3 separate regions of the Homo sapiens genome follow, and all the other regions are linked to region 1. Evidence: promoter capture Hi-C in human tissues and cell types (Jung and others, 2019). All regions are on one chromosome and are shown on one strand. The core of a region is centred on a gene start or on the middle of the fragment in contact, and the rest is flanking DNA. Distances in the headings are between cores, read along the strand shown.

Evidence for each region. Contacts are between HindIII fragments. The study calls those that stand out against the background at their distance.
Region 2: a contact is called between the fragment with the promoter of MRPL27 here and a fragment that was not itself captured in region 1, in 2 of the 25 tissues and cell types used here (dorsolateral prefrontal cortex and lymphoblastoid cells).
Region 3: the fragment with the promoter of LRRC59 here is called in contact with a fragment that was not itself captured in region 1 in 1 of the 25 tissues and cell types used here (pancreas).

The regions. Positions count from the first base shown.
Region 1 is chr17:50,803,658-50,808,168 of GRCh38, reverse strand. No RefSeq gene overlaps it. Among named protein-coding and RNA genes, the nearest start is that of WFIKKN2, 30 kb to the left of the region's middle. RefSeq lists a silencer at 1,781-2,002. The HindIII fragment of the contact is 6,487 bases long and covers 1-4,511 here.
Region 2 is chr17:50,371,162-50,375,672 of GRCh38, reverse strand. It overlaps MRPL27 (mitochondrial ribosomal protein L27), which reads left to right and starts at 2,489. Exons shown (of 4, transcript NM_016504.3): 1 at 2,489-2,542. The coding sequence starts at 2,503. EME1 (essential meiotic structure-specific endonuclease 1) reads right to left here and starts at 2,444. Exons shown (of 9, transcript NM_152463.4): 1 at 2,396-2,444; 2 at 1-488. The coding sequence starts at 464. RefSeq lists enhancers at 2,126-2,345, 2,486-2,955. The HindIII fragment of the contact is 32,602 bases long and covers 1-4,511 here.
Region 3 is chr17:50,395,432-50,399,942 of GRCh38, reverse strand. It overlaps LRRC59 (leucine rich repeat containing 59), which reads left to right and starts at 2,420. Exons shown (of 7, transcript NM_018509.4): 1 at 2,420-2,730. The coding sequence starts at 2,626. It overlaps LRRC59-AS1 (LRRC59 antisense RNA 1), which reads right to left. Exons shown (of 2, transcript NR_199069.1): 2 at 1,386-2,727. RefSeq lists a silencer at 2,374-2,443. The HindIII fragment of the contact is 9,986 bases long and covers 1-3,880 here.

The DNA of each region.
Region 1 (4,511 bases), core at 1,182-3,681:
GCCATCAAGCCTGGCTAATTTTTGTATTTTTAGTAGAGACGGGGTTTCACCATGTCGGGCAGGCTGGTCTCAAACCTCTGACCTCAAGTAATCTGCCCACCTCGGTCTCCCAAAGTGCTGGGATTACAGGCATGAGCCACTGTGCCTGCCCTAATTTTACATTTTTAATAAGACAGAATTTTATACTAATGATGGTTTCATGATAACTATATTAGTTTCCGGTGGCTGCTGTAACAAATTGCCAGAAACTCAGTGGCTTCAAACAACAGAAATTTACTTTCTCACAGTTCTGGAGGCCAGAGTCCGAAATCCATTTTCACTGGGCCAAGGCTCACAGAGAGAATCCGCCCCTGGCTCTTCCAGCTTCTATTGGCTCCCAGCACCCTGACCACCTCACTCCAGTTTCTCCCTCTGTGATTCGTTGCCTCCTCCTCCTCCTCCTCCTCTTCTTCTTCTTCTTCTTTTCTTTTCTCTTTTTCTTTCTTTTTTTTTTTTGAGTCAGTGAGTCAAGGTCTGATTCTATCACCCAGGCTGAAGTGCAGTGGTGCAACCTCTGGCTCCCAGGCTCAAGCCATCCTCCCATCTCAGGCTCCCAAGTAGCTGGGACTACAGGTTTGCACTACCATACCTGGCTAATTTTTGTAGAGACGGACGGGGTTTTGCCATGTTGCACAGGCTGGTCTTGAACTCTTGACCCAAGCTATGGAACCCACCCATTGTGCGGGTAACCGTCTCACACACATCTTCTCCCGAGTCTCCAAGCTGCAAGCTCCCATGTGTTTGTCTGAAGGAAGCTCATCTTTTTTCTTATTATTGTGATGAAACACACATAATATAAATTTTACCATTTTAACCATTGTAGGTATGCAATTCAGTGGCATCGAGGACATTCACATTGTTGTGCAACCATCACCACTACCTAGTTCCAGAACTTTTTCATCATCCCCAAAGGAAATCCATTAGCCATCACTCCCATTCCCCCTCCCCACAGCCCCTGGCAACCGCAAATCTGCTTCCTGTCTCTGTGGATTTGCCTATCTAAACATTTCACATAAATGGAGTCATACAATATTGGCCTTTTTGTGTCTGGCTTCTTTCATTTAGCATGAGGTTTGCAGGGTTCATCTATACTGTGGTGGGTGTCAGTACTTCACTGCTTTACATGGGTGAATAATATTCTGTTGTTTGTTGGTTCTTTTTTTTTTTTTTTTGAGATGGAGTCTCACCCTGTCACTCAGGCTGGAGTGCAGTGGTTCGATCTCGGCTCACTGCAGCCTCCGCCTCCCGAGTTCAAGTGATTCTCCTGCCTCAGCCTCCCGAGTAGCTAGGATTACAATTGTGCACCACCACGCCTGGCTAATTTTTGTATTTTCAGTAGAGACAGGGTTTCACCATGTTGGCCAGGCTGGTCTCAAACTCCTGACCTCAAGTGATCCACCCACCTCGGCCTCCCAAAGTGCTGGGATTACAGGCATGAGCCACTGCGCCCAGCCTGTTGTTTGTAGGTTCTACATTGTGTTGATTCATTCATCAATTTTTGGATATTTGGATGGTTTTCTACTTTCGGCTGTTTCTGGCCAGAGCCCCACAGCGCCCCCTCTAGACCCTCCATACTCATCTCTGAGTGAGGCAGTCATGCAGCCAGCGGGCCTCCAAGCTTCTGTGCCAAGTCAAACAAGAGTTTGACCCTAATCCAACACAGAGAAAATTTGGCAACGCTAAGCCAAGTTCCTTGGTGAGGCGCACATTTGCCTCTTGATCTGCCGCATGCCCTCTTCAGGGAACACCCTTTCTTCCTGGGGGCAGCTTCTCCCCCTATTCCAACCACGTGGCCCTAGTGGGGCTGCCATGCCATCCCGGAACCCTACCTGATGCAGGGTCTCTGCAGCTCAGCCTTTCCCACATGCGGAGCGGCCAAGTGTGCAGCTGAAGTTTTTGGTTGATTCTAGCAAATTCCCCCTTTCTGCCCAAGCTGGCTCATGTTGGATTTTGTCACTTTCAAGCCAGAGTCCTCACGGGGGCAGCTCCATCTCCCACCACAAATCCCAGGTGCTCCCTGAAGTGGAGAAAATGGGGCATCCTGCCTGGGCCCAGACTAGCACCCCCCCACAATATAATAACTCTGTGGGGTCCCCAGGTGTTTCATTTAACTTTGAGCTTCCTGGATGAACAGCATGGAGCTCCAATATTCATAAAAACTGGACCTCTGGGGCACGCCCAGGCTTGTCGAGACCCTGGAGGTCAGAAAGTGCAAGAAAGTTCTCCAGGTGTTCCTTGGACAGTTTGCACCTGGTAACTGACCCTTGGCTTGTGGGATTCCCCCCACCCCATGTCATTCCCCCCACCCCATGTGGCTAATGAATGGATCCTGCAGGGAGTCACCATTCGCCTGGATAACGTCCTTGGGTGCCGTCCAGTGGGGCCTGGAAAAAGTTGCTGGCTTAGGCAGCATCGCCTCCAAGCCAGCTGTTCCTAAGGACTGTGTTCCCACATGCAGAACACCTGGGCCCTCCTCTGTCCAGCCAGGACTTCTGCGTGTGCTGAACTGGCTATTGACACTTCCTAGGTAGATTCCCCAGTGTCTGTCTGACCAGCAACCCTCCTCACCTCCTCCTCAGAACTTATTGTGGAATCAGAAAGTATAAGATTTCCCCTTGGGGACGAGTAGTACAGAATGAGTCCAGGTGTGGTGGCTCACACCTGTAATCCCAGCACTTTGGGAGGCTGAGGCAGGGGATCACTGGAGGTCAGGAGTTCAAGACCAGCCTGGCCAACATGGTGAAACCCTGTCTCTACTAAAAATACAAAAGTTAGCTGGTCATGGTGGTGTGCGCCTGTAGTCCCAGCTACTCAGGAGGCTGAGGCAGAATTGCTTGAATCTGGGGGGTGGAGATTGCAGTGAGCCGAAATCACACCACTGCACTCTAGCCTGGATGACAGGGCAAAACTCTGTCCAGACTCTGTCTAAAAAATAAAAAAAAAAACTGTAGGGCACGGTGGCTCACGCCTGTAATCCCACCACTTTGGAAGGCCAAGGCGGGCAGATCACCTGAGGTCGAGAGTTCAAGACCAGCCTGGCCAACATGGAGAAACCCCATCTCTACTAAAAATACAAAAGTAGCCAGGTGTGGTGGTGCATGCCCGTAATCCCAGCTACTTGGGAGGCCGAGGCAGGAGAATCGCTTGAATCCGGGAGGTGGAGGTGGAGGTTGCGGTGAGCTGAGATTGCGCCATCACACTCCAGCATAGGCAACAAGAGTGAAACTCTGTCTCAAAAAAAAAGTACAGAATGACAATTATGAAAATCAATTTTGTTTAATCTTTTCTAAAATGGAACAATGAACCAAGCAATTTCCTGGGCCCAAAAAAAGAAGCAGTATTGCGGTTATTAAAATAGTGTTTACTTTGTGCTGATGGGAAAAGATGTGAAATATTAATGACTCCACGGAGCCCCGATTATGTGACTCATTAGGCAAAGGCCCTATGTGCAATTAAAGTAGACTCTTCAGTGTCTATCTTAAGTGACTTTGTGTTTTGTCCAGCCACTCCATACACAAGGATGAGTGGCCAGGTGCAGAGGCTCATGCTTGTAATCCCAGCACTTTGGAAGGCCGAAGCAGGAGGATCGTGAAGCCTAGGAGTTCGAGACCAGCCTGGGCAACATAGTGGGACCCTCATCTCCATAAAAAAAAAACCAAAAAAGCAAAAACAACAAAAAAAAAAGAGAGAGAAAAAGATAATTTTTGTTGTTCTAATTTTTTTCTACAGAGCCTTTTTCATATAACTTTGTGCCTCGGGTTCCTCATCTGTACAATGGGATAATAGTACTTACTCCATAGGAATATTTTGAGGATTTACGACATATAACTCACTTAAAAACTGTGCCTGATGCCGGGCGTGGTGGCTCACGCCTGTAACCCCAGCACTTTAGGAGGCCAGGGAAGGCGAATCACTTGAGGTCAGGAGTTCATGACCAGCCTGGCCAACATGGTGAAACCCTGTCTCTACTAAAAATGCAAAAAATTAGCTGCAAATCGCTTAAACCTGGGAGGCGGAGCTTGCAATGAGCTGAGATCTGCCACTGCACTCTAGCTTGGGCGACAGAGCGAGACTCCATCTCAAAAACAAACAAACAAACAAAAAACTGTGCCTGAAAAGTAGGAACAATAAAATACATGAGTCATTATCATCCCCATTATCATCATTATAAATCTCGAGGATGTAGAACACACTTTAGGTAACTGAGTGAAATGAAGCTCGATAGCACAGGACACAGTCATGGTTCAGGACCTGCACCCACTGTCAATCACTTCAGCTGCAAATACGCTCAGCAAACTCACTGGGTTCTTGTCCTTTGTTTTGTGTTTCTTTTTCCCCATCTAAACTAGGTCCCTCTGTTTCACTTACTAAGCGAGACCAGTCTGCTGTTTTTCTCTGCAGATACTGGCTTTAAGAAAAAGGTGCCTCTGGCTGTTTCTGAGTTTTAATGAAAGCAAAGCTTCTTTCTTTCC
Region 2 (4,511 bases), core at 1,240-3,739, 430 kb after region 1:
GCACTCCTCTCTGGGGTATCATGGAGGGGAACTTCAGGGATCTTTGGAAAGGGCTTTTTCCAGTCACATGATGCACCTTCATTATTTTGATGATCCAAAACACTTTTAACTGGGGAGCTAGAGTCCTCAGGGCTCAGTTGCTTGTGGGTCAGAAACTTACATGTAAGCCTTTGAGCCAGAGGAATAAATTCTTCTTCATCTTCACTTTCACTGCTTAGCAACCTGACTGGCTGTGTTTGTGTGACAGTTTCAGCTATTTCTGGGACAGGTGGTGAAAATAACTCTGGTGCTGGAGGACAGGAGGCTTCACAATCTGAGATGTCAACCACTACAATCTTCTCTTCCCTTTCAGGCTGTCTCCTCTTTGTTGAAGATGGTTCCTTCTTCAGAAAGGCAAATGTTGGCAACTCCTCAGAGTCACTATCACCAGAATCCAGTGAGGGTGATGACTTCTTTAGAGCCATCAGTATGTGCTATCAAATAATTCCCTAAAAGGAAAAGAGACATATGACACAGACTGGAGCATTCAATTCAGTCCACTAGCTGTGTTCCATAGCCAGGCTTTATGACATAAATATAAGATATAGAGAATACAGAAACAGAGAAATATGACATGGCCCCAACACATTCAATCTGGAACTCTAACTCCTGGTAATCTAACAGGAATCCTCCTCAAATTCTTTCCAGGTCAAGCTGAAGTATAAACAAAGTAGAGTTACCATTACAAAATTTTAATGGGGGGAGGTGGTAACAAGATTTAACACCTCCAACCCCTTGTTTATCTTCACGTTTGAAATGGAGATGTCAAAAGTTCTTCTTTTTTTTTTTTGAGATGGAGTCTCACTCTGGCACCCACGTTGGAGTGCAGTGGCACAATCTTGGCTCACTGCAACCTCACTCCCAGGTTCAAGTGATTCTCCTGCCTCAGCCTAGCTGGGATTACAGGCGCCCCACCACCACACCTGGCTAATTTTTGTATTTTTAGTAGAGATGCGTTTTCATCATGTTCGCCAGGCTAGTCTTGAACTCCTGACCTCAAGTGATCCGCCCGCCTTGGCCTCCCAAAGTGCTGAGATTACAGGTGTGAACCACTGCACCTGGCCAAAAACTGTTCTTTTTAAAAATTGAGATATAGGCTGGGCATGGTAGCTCATGCGTATAATCCCAGCACTTTGGGAGGCCAAAGCAGAAGGATCACTTGAGCCCAGGAGTTCGAGAACAGCCTGGGCAACATAGTGAGAACTCGTCTCTACAAAAAAATACAAAAATTAGCTGGGTATGGTGGCTCACACCTGTAGTCCCAGATACTCAGGAGGCTGAGGTGGGAGGATTGCTTGAGCCTGGGAGGTCAAGGCTGCAGTGAGCTGTGATTGTACGACTGCACTCCAGCCCGGGTGACAGAGTGAGACCCTGCTTCAAAAGAAAAATAAAATAAAAATAAAAATAGAGATATAATTTGCACAGCATAATATCCTTTTAAAAGTGTACATTCAGTAGATTTTAGTATATTCACAATGTTGTGCAACCATCATCACTATTTTATCACCTCAAAAAGAATTCCTGCAGCCATTAAGCCGTCACTGTCCTTTCCCTCCCTCCCCAGCTCCTGGCAACCATAAATCTGTCTCTATGCATTTGCCTATTCTGGATATTTCATATAAATAGAATCATACACTATGTGGCCTTTTGTGATTGACTTTTTTCACTCAGCTTGTTTTCAAGGTTTATCTATGATGTAGCCTGTATCAGTAGTTAATTGCTTTTCATGACTGAATAATATTCCACTGTATGGATATGCTACATTTTGTTTATCCATTCATCACTTGGACATTTAATTTGTTTCCTTTTTTTGCCTGTTATGAATAATGCTGCTATGAACACTGACATACAAGTTTTTGTGGGGGTATGTTTTCAAATCCCTTTCGTGTATATACCTAGGAGTAGAATTGCTGGGTCATATGCAAAGCTAATCATTTCTTGAACATTTACTAACACTGTAGGTATGACCCAGAAGGAGACATGTAACCTGCCTAGGCCTCAGTTTCTTCCTTAGTAAAACAGGGATGGTAACAGCACCCATTTTATAAGGTAGTGAGAATTAAATAAAATAATGCATCCACCGCGCTTAGTACAGCATCTGGCACACAGCTGGCTAAGTAGAGTAAGTTGAATGACTAGGGAGGGGGCCTCATCTCTGACCCTTCGCTGGGCCTCCGTTGACATCTGCAAATCAGGGGAGTGGGACAAGCGGGCCCCTGCCCGACAAGCTCTGCGCCTCTCAGGCTGGCGGTCCGCTGCAGAGGCTCCTGGACACCTTAGCCACCAAGATTCTGCAGAGCGGTGTTCAGGAGGGAAGCCCTGCCCAATCCGCAGGCCTGCGACCGGGGACGCTCACCTGCAACTTCTCCCGCCACTCTTTCAACTGCCACGCAGGGCCCGGAAGTAGATCTCCTGATAGCGGAAGTAGAAACTTTTCGAGACCGGAAGTGAGTGATCGAAAGCATGGCGTCGGTGGTGTTGGCGCTGAGGACCCGGACAGCCGGTAATGGGACGCAGTAGTCAGAGCGGGGTGAGGCGGGGAGGCAGAGTGGAGCTCCAGCAGGGAGGGAAGGAGGTGACACTGATCCCCGCGGAGGACCTTGGATGCGAGGGGAAGTGTGTGGGGTACTCCAGGTTTGAGGGACGGTGTCGCTGGTCACGTGACACATCCTGGGTGGAGCCGTGAGTGAGGGCGTTTGAAGAGCACTTGTCTTTCTCCTGCCTCAGCAGCACGGACGGGTTCCTTGGCGGTTGGGGATTTGGGTGGGTCCTTTCTCTGTAGAAGTATTAGTAACATTGGCATATTGGGGTTGAAAAAATTAATCTATTGATTCAGCAGATTGAGGTCTTACTTTGTGCTAGACACGGCGGTAGGTGTTCGGAAAATCAGCAGAAAACGTGAAGACTTGGCTTCTAGCCCCCGAACGGTTCTCTCTGGTGCATAAGGCAATAAATGAACATATAAAGTAGATGTAGACTGGCAAGTGCTGTGAAGAAGGATAATGTGTGTCTGTGTGTGTGTCTTTTTTTAGATTGGACGGTGAAGGAAGGCTTCTGAGGAGATAACATTTAAAACCTAAAGAATGACAGGCGGGGCGTGATGGCTCACGCCTGTAGTCCCAACACTTTGGGAGGCCTAGGTGGGCGGATCGCTTGAGCCCAGGAGTTCAAGACCGACTGGGCAACATGGCAAAACCCCATCTCTACAAAAAATACAAAAATTAGCTGGGTGTAGTGGCGCTTGCCTGTGGTCTCAGATACTCAGGAGGCTGAGGTGGGAGGATCACCTGAGCTCGGGAGGTCGAGGTTGCAGTGAGCTATGTTCATACCACTGCACTCCAGCCTGGGTGACAGAATGGGGCCCTATCCCCCCCCCCCAAAAAAAAAAGAATGACAGGAGACCTAGACCTGTGTAGAGTGAGGGACAGGAGAGTGACTTGAGCCAGTTTTACATTTTGAGAAGCAAACTATTGCTCTTATGTAAATTTAAAGGGGATAGGAGTGGAAATGAGGAAATCAAATGGAAAGTCGTAATAGCCCTGAGGAGAGATGATTTAGCCAAGATGTTTGTGGTGGCAGTGAACTTGGAGGAAAACGGATGAATTTGAGATCTGTTTTGGAGTTAGCATCCACAGAGCTTGCTGGTGAACAATATGTGAGGACAGCAAAGAGAAGGAATCTGCAATGACTCTGGTTTCTGCCTAAGCAACTGGATGAATGGTGGTACCATTTACTTTGAGGAGGAGGATGGGGAGTAGGGTGAAGAGCAAAGATTTGTGAGTGAGATAATGTAAGTAAAGTAAAAGCCCAGCTCCTGAGCTTAGTAAGTATGTAAATGAATGAATAGATGTTTAAAGGTAGGTAGATCCTGGCGCCGGGCATGTTTTAACATGTTGTCTTTCTGAGTCCTTATCTCTGGTCCTTTGCCCCAGCTAGTCTCTGGTGTCATGGAAATGTCAGAAACCCAGGCTTCAGGAACTCTGAACTTATAGGCTCCAGAGACCCACAAGGCTTCTCTAAAGACACTGGCATGGACCTTAAATCATGGCTGTGTCTGGAGACCTGCAGGCAAGGAGTTGCACCCCTAGGCTTGTCATACAGCAAGGGACTACCATCTTAGTATGAATTTTAGTTCATTTTACTTCTGCAAATGAATGCTATTGAGCACTTTGGAATGAGTATGGAGAGGTCAGATTAACAAGGGCAGTGTGTGGGTCATGGTTGGACCTCTGCTTGATGTGCTTTGAGAAGAAAGGGCCCAGCCTTCTGAAATGGCCAGGACCCTGTGGGAGCCACTTTTAGGCCAGCCATCCTTTTGGTTTACTAGTATTTGGTGAGCAGTGGATGAGTGGACAGCTGAGAAAGTCATGGGTGAGGCCTGTAATCCCAACACTTTGGGATCACCTGAGGTCAGGAGTTCGAGACCAGCCTGGCTAACATGGTGAAACCCCGTTTCTACTAAAAATACGAAA
Region 3 (4,511 bases), core at 1,171-3,670, 410 kb after region 1:
TAAATGGAGCCCCAGATGCGGTCCATGACTAAGATCTACCGTGGACCCCTGGACCAGTCTGCTAGCCCATGCTGTGATGTTGGTGACATCAAAAGCAACCCTCCCGAGGAAATCTCAACTGCACAACCCCTACTATGCCCCAATTTAGCAGGAAGCAGTTAGAGCGGTCATCGGCCAACCTCCCCAACAGCACTTGGGTTTTCCTGTTGAGGGGGGCACTGAGAGACAGGACTAGCTGGATTTCCTAAGCCAACTAAGAATCCCTAAGCCTAGCTGGGAAGGTGACCGCATCCACCTTTAAACATGGGGCTTGCAACTTAGCTCGCACCTGATCAATCAGGTAGTAAAGAGAGCTCACTGAAATGCTAATTAAGCAAAAACAGGAGGTAAAGAAATAGCCAATCATCTATCGCCTGAGAGCACAGGAGGAGGGACAATGATCGGGATATAAACCCAGGCATTCGAGCCGGCAACAGCAACCCCCTTTGGGTCCCCTGCCATTTTATGGGAGCTCTGTTTTCACTCTATTAAATCTTGCAACTGCACACTTTTCTGGTCCGTGTTTGTTACGGCTTGAGCTGAGCTTTTCCTTACCGTCCACTACTGCTGTTTGCTGCTGTCGCAGACCCGCTGCTGACTTCCACCCCTCTGGATCTGGCAGGGTGTCTGCTGGGCTCCCGATCCAGTGAGGCGCCCATTGCTGCTCTGGATCAGGCTAAAGGCTTGCCATTGTTCCTGCGTGGCTAAGTGCCTGGATTTGTCCTAATTGAGCTGAATAGAGCTATAACACTCATTGCATGGCCCAAGATTCCATTCCTTGGAATGCGTGAGGCCAAGAAACCCAGGTCAGAGAACAAGAGGCTTGCCGCCATCTTGGAAGTGGCCCGCCACCATCTTGGGAGTTCTAAGAACAAGGACCCCTGCCACCCACCCCCCGTAACAATTGCACTTACTTTATTTGGTGTTCATAGTTTCCCTCTGAGACAAGATTTTTTATTTTTTATTTTTTTAGAGATGGGGTCTTGCTATGTTGCCCAGACTGGTTTTGAACTCCTAGCCTCAAATAATCCTCTCATCTTGGCCTCCCAAGTATTGGGATTACAGGTGTGAGCTATCCTGCTCGGCCCCTCTGAGATAAGCTTTAATATCCCTATTTCAAAATGAGTAAACTGAGGTTTGGAGTGGGTAAAGTGCTTCCTTCCTTCATTCATTCATTCATTCATCCATCCATCTATTCATTTATTCAACAGACATCTGAATGAGTAGCTACCCTGCATCAGGGTATGCCAACTCTGGGCATACGAAGATGATTAAGACAAAAATCCCTGTCCTCACAGTCCAGAATGAAGGACAGACACATAAAGATGAGTATAATACAAGGTGGATCATGAATTGTAGCTAATATTTATTGGGTACTTACTAAGTGCCAGTGACTGCTGTAAGCTCTTGGTGTGTTTTACTCCTTCAGTTCTCCCCAACCTCTGTTAGCTACATGTCTCATAGATTGATTCATAGATAAGACTGAAGCCTGGTGATTGTCTACGGTTTTATAAGTAGCAAGTGGCAGAGCCAGGATGAATACCCAGTGGATAGGTATTAGTGCCAGAGGTCCCACTTGGCCATCAAGCTCTACTGTCTCTGATGATAAAGTAGCAAACAGGGACCTAAGTTGGTTGGGGGGGGCGCTAACTCAGTCTGGCATTCACGGTGTTCAGGGGAGATTTCCTGAAGGACTAAGGAATTAGCTAGACAGAGGTGAGTGGGGGGGAGGGAGGGCCATCGCTGGGGAGGGCCAGACGTGGGAGCCACCTCCTGGAAATCTACACAGCATCTAGGCCAGGCAGGGACTGGAGCGTGTGAGGAAGCTGCGAAAGCAGGCAGGACCCAGCTTCCAAAGGAAAGTGGTCCGTATCCTAGAGGTAGCTGCAAGTTTGAAGGGTTTTACGTAGGGGAGAGACTTGGCCAGATTTTTAGAAAGATCACCGGGGAGCTGGGTGAAAGTGGATGGAAGGACAGAGACAAGCACTGAGGCAGTGAGTGGGGAGGAGAGAGGAGAAATTCAGGAAGAAGAGTTTTCCCCATGATGGTTATTCGGGGGTTAAGTAGAGGACAGGGAGCAGTTTTAGAGGACACCCAGCTTCTGCTCCTAATCAGGGGGATTGGGGTGATCTGATGAGGTCAGTATTGGATGTCAACCCAGTCTTCTGGCGCCCAGTCCGTGCCCTTTCGCCTCGTGGCACTGCCAGCAATAATGCCCGCGGGCCACGGGTGAACGTGAACCGAGCTCGCAGCCTCCAACCCCACCCCTCCGGCGGCGGCGACGTGCAGTGCATCACCCTGGGCACCAGGGGGCGTGCCCGCACACGCTCGGGCCGCTCTGGCCCAGCCCATCTCAGTGGTCGCGGAAGGTGACGTGGACACGGAAGTGGTCGTCGTCGCGGCACCGGTGGGAGCTAGGCGCGAGGCTCGGAGTGCGGCCAGCGGGCGGAGGCGGTCTCGCATCGGCGGCGACGGAGGGCTCAGGCGTCGTCGTTTGGGTGGGGGGCCGCTGAACTGACAAGCGACATTTCAGCTCCTTTCACCCGCCGGAACCCCGGAGCCGGGGCCCGCTCAGCCGGCGTTACCATGACCAAGGCCGGTAGCAAGGGCGGGAACCTCCGCGACAAGCTGGACGGCAACGAACTGGACCTGAGCCTCAGCGACCTGAATGAGGTCCCGGTGAAGGAGCTGGTCAGTATCGTCCCGCGAGGCCCAGGCGCCCACCTTCGCCGGGCGCTGGCCCCTACGTGGGCCACTTACTTTCCTCTTCTCTAAAAGCATCAGTTTCCTTTTCTTTAAAAAGAAGCGGGGTGGTGGGACTAAGTCCCCTAGGAGGCCGCGTCCAGCCCAAGGTTCTTCCCGGGATGTACACGTGTCACTTTGGCGCAGTTCCAGAACATAGGGAAGATCTGCTTCTCTGGCCCTAGGCTTTTTACAGGCTAAGAAGCGAATCTGTCACCTTTGCGGGGCTTTCACAGCGCCCACCTCCGTGCCCGACTCTGAGTAGGAGCACACGGAGCAGTTACTGGATGTATTCGAGAATGAATGAGTGACTTGTTCCAGGGGAGTAGGCCTCCTGGTAGACCTGGGTGTGGCCCAGAACCTGGCTCTTCTAGGAAGCTGGCAATTCCAGCTGGCTGCCCGAGCCCTGAGGCAGCCTAACTCGAAGAAAGTAAAGTCTCCCCCCAGCTTGGCTGGTAAACTGTCATCTGAATTCCGCTGAAACTGGCGGGAGTCCCTTTCGCCCCTCTCTCCCCCAACCTTTCCCCTGTAAACTGAAGCTTACAGCTCCAGAGAGATAGCAGGCATCTAGTTTTGTCAGCGTGGAGCTAGTTCCCACATCCCTCCTTTTCCCACTCCGTTCCCCCTCCCACCCGCGCCAACGCCCTACTAGACTCACTTTGGGTGACCCACACTTTGCTTTCTGCCGTTGATAAATTACATTTGCCTTGGGCGCTGGGCCCAGTCTTTCTTCCACCGTGGACGGGTATTACAGTGGTTAGAACCGGGTTCCTAGCTCCTCCCAGCTCCATTGCTTAATAGCCGAGTGCCCTTGGCAAGCTAGTTAGCCTTTATGCCTAGATCTCCTCATCTATACAATGGTGATAATAGTTTCCATCTCATACGCTTATTGGGAGGTTAAATACCATTGTAATGGAAAATGCTTGGAAGGAGCAAATACTGATACTTGTAGCTGTTGTTGTGTTTTTCCCGCTGTAGTATTTAAAACTTTTTTAGGTGGTCAAACTTCACTTTTACGACTTTGTGACAGAAAGTGCAGGTTGCCAGAGGATCCTTAACTGAATATATGCCTCCTTTTCTACCCCAGGAAGATAGATGGCCAGCCTTATTTCACCCTGCCCTAGGACTGCTCTCTGAAACCATATACTCCAGGCATCTGAACAGTCCAGCATTAACCTTAGGGAGAAAGTTTTGCTGAGCTTGTCCAGCCTGGACACCATGGGAAAATAGAGATGGGCTGTGAGGGCCTTTTTTTTTTTTGGATGATGGAGTTTTGCTGTTGTTGCCCAGGAGTGATCTCGGCTCACTGAAACCTCTGCCTCCCGGGTTCAAGCGATTCTCCTGCCTCAGCCTCCCGAGTAGCTGGGATTACAAGCGTGTGCCACCATGCCTGGCTAATTTTCTATTTTTAGTAGAGACAGGGTTTCTCCGTGTTGGTCAGGCTGGTCTCGAACTCCTGACTTCAGGTGATTGCCTGCCTCAGCCTCCCAAAGTGGTGGGATTACAGGCGTGAGCCACCGCACCCGGCAGGGCCTTGTTTTTTCACTCTGTCATTCACTCCGCTACTTACTCGATCAGTCATGATTCAGGCAACATGTATGGATATTGAGTACCTGTTCTGAGGAAGGGCCTGAACTGGGGAATATGGAAATTGCAAAGCTTTATTAGACACTGTCCCTGCCCTGAAACCTAATAAGAGGGACGCTGGGTAATATTTATTTTTAAAGTGC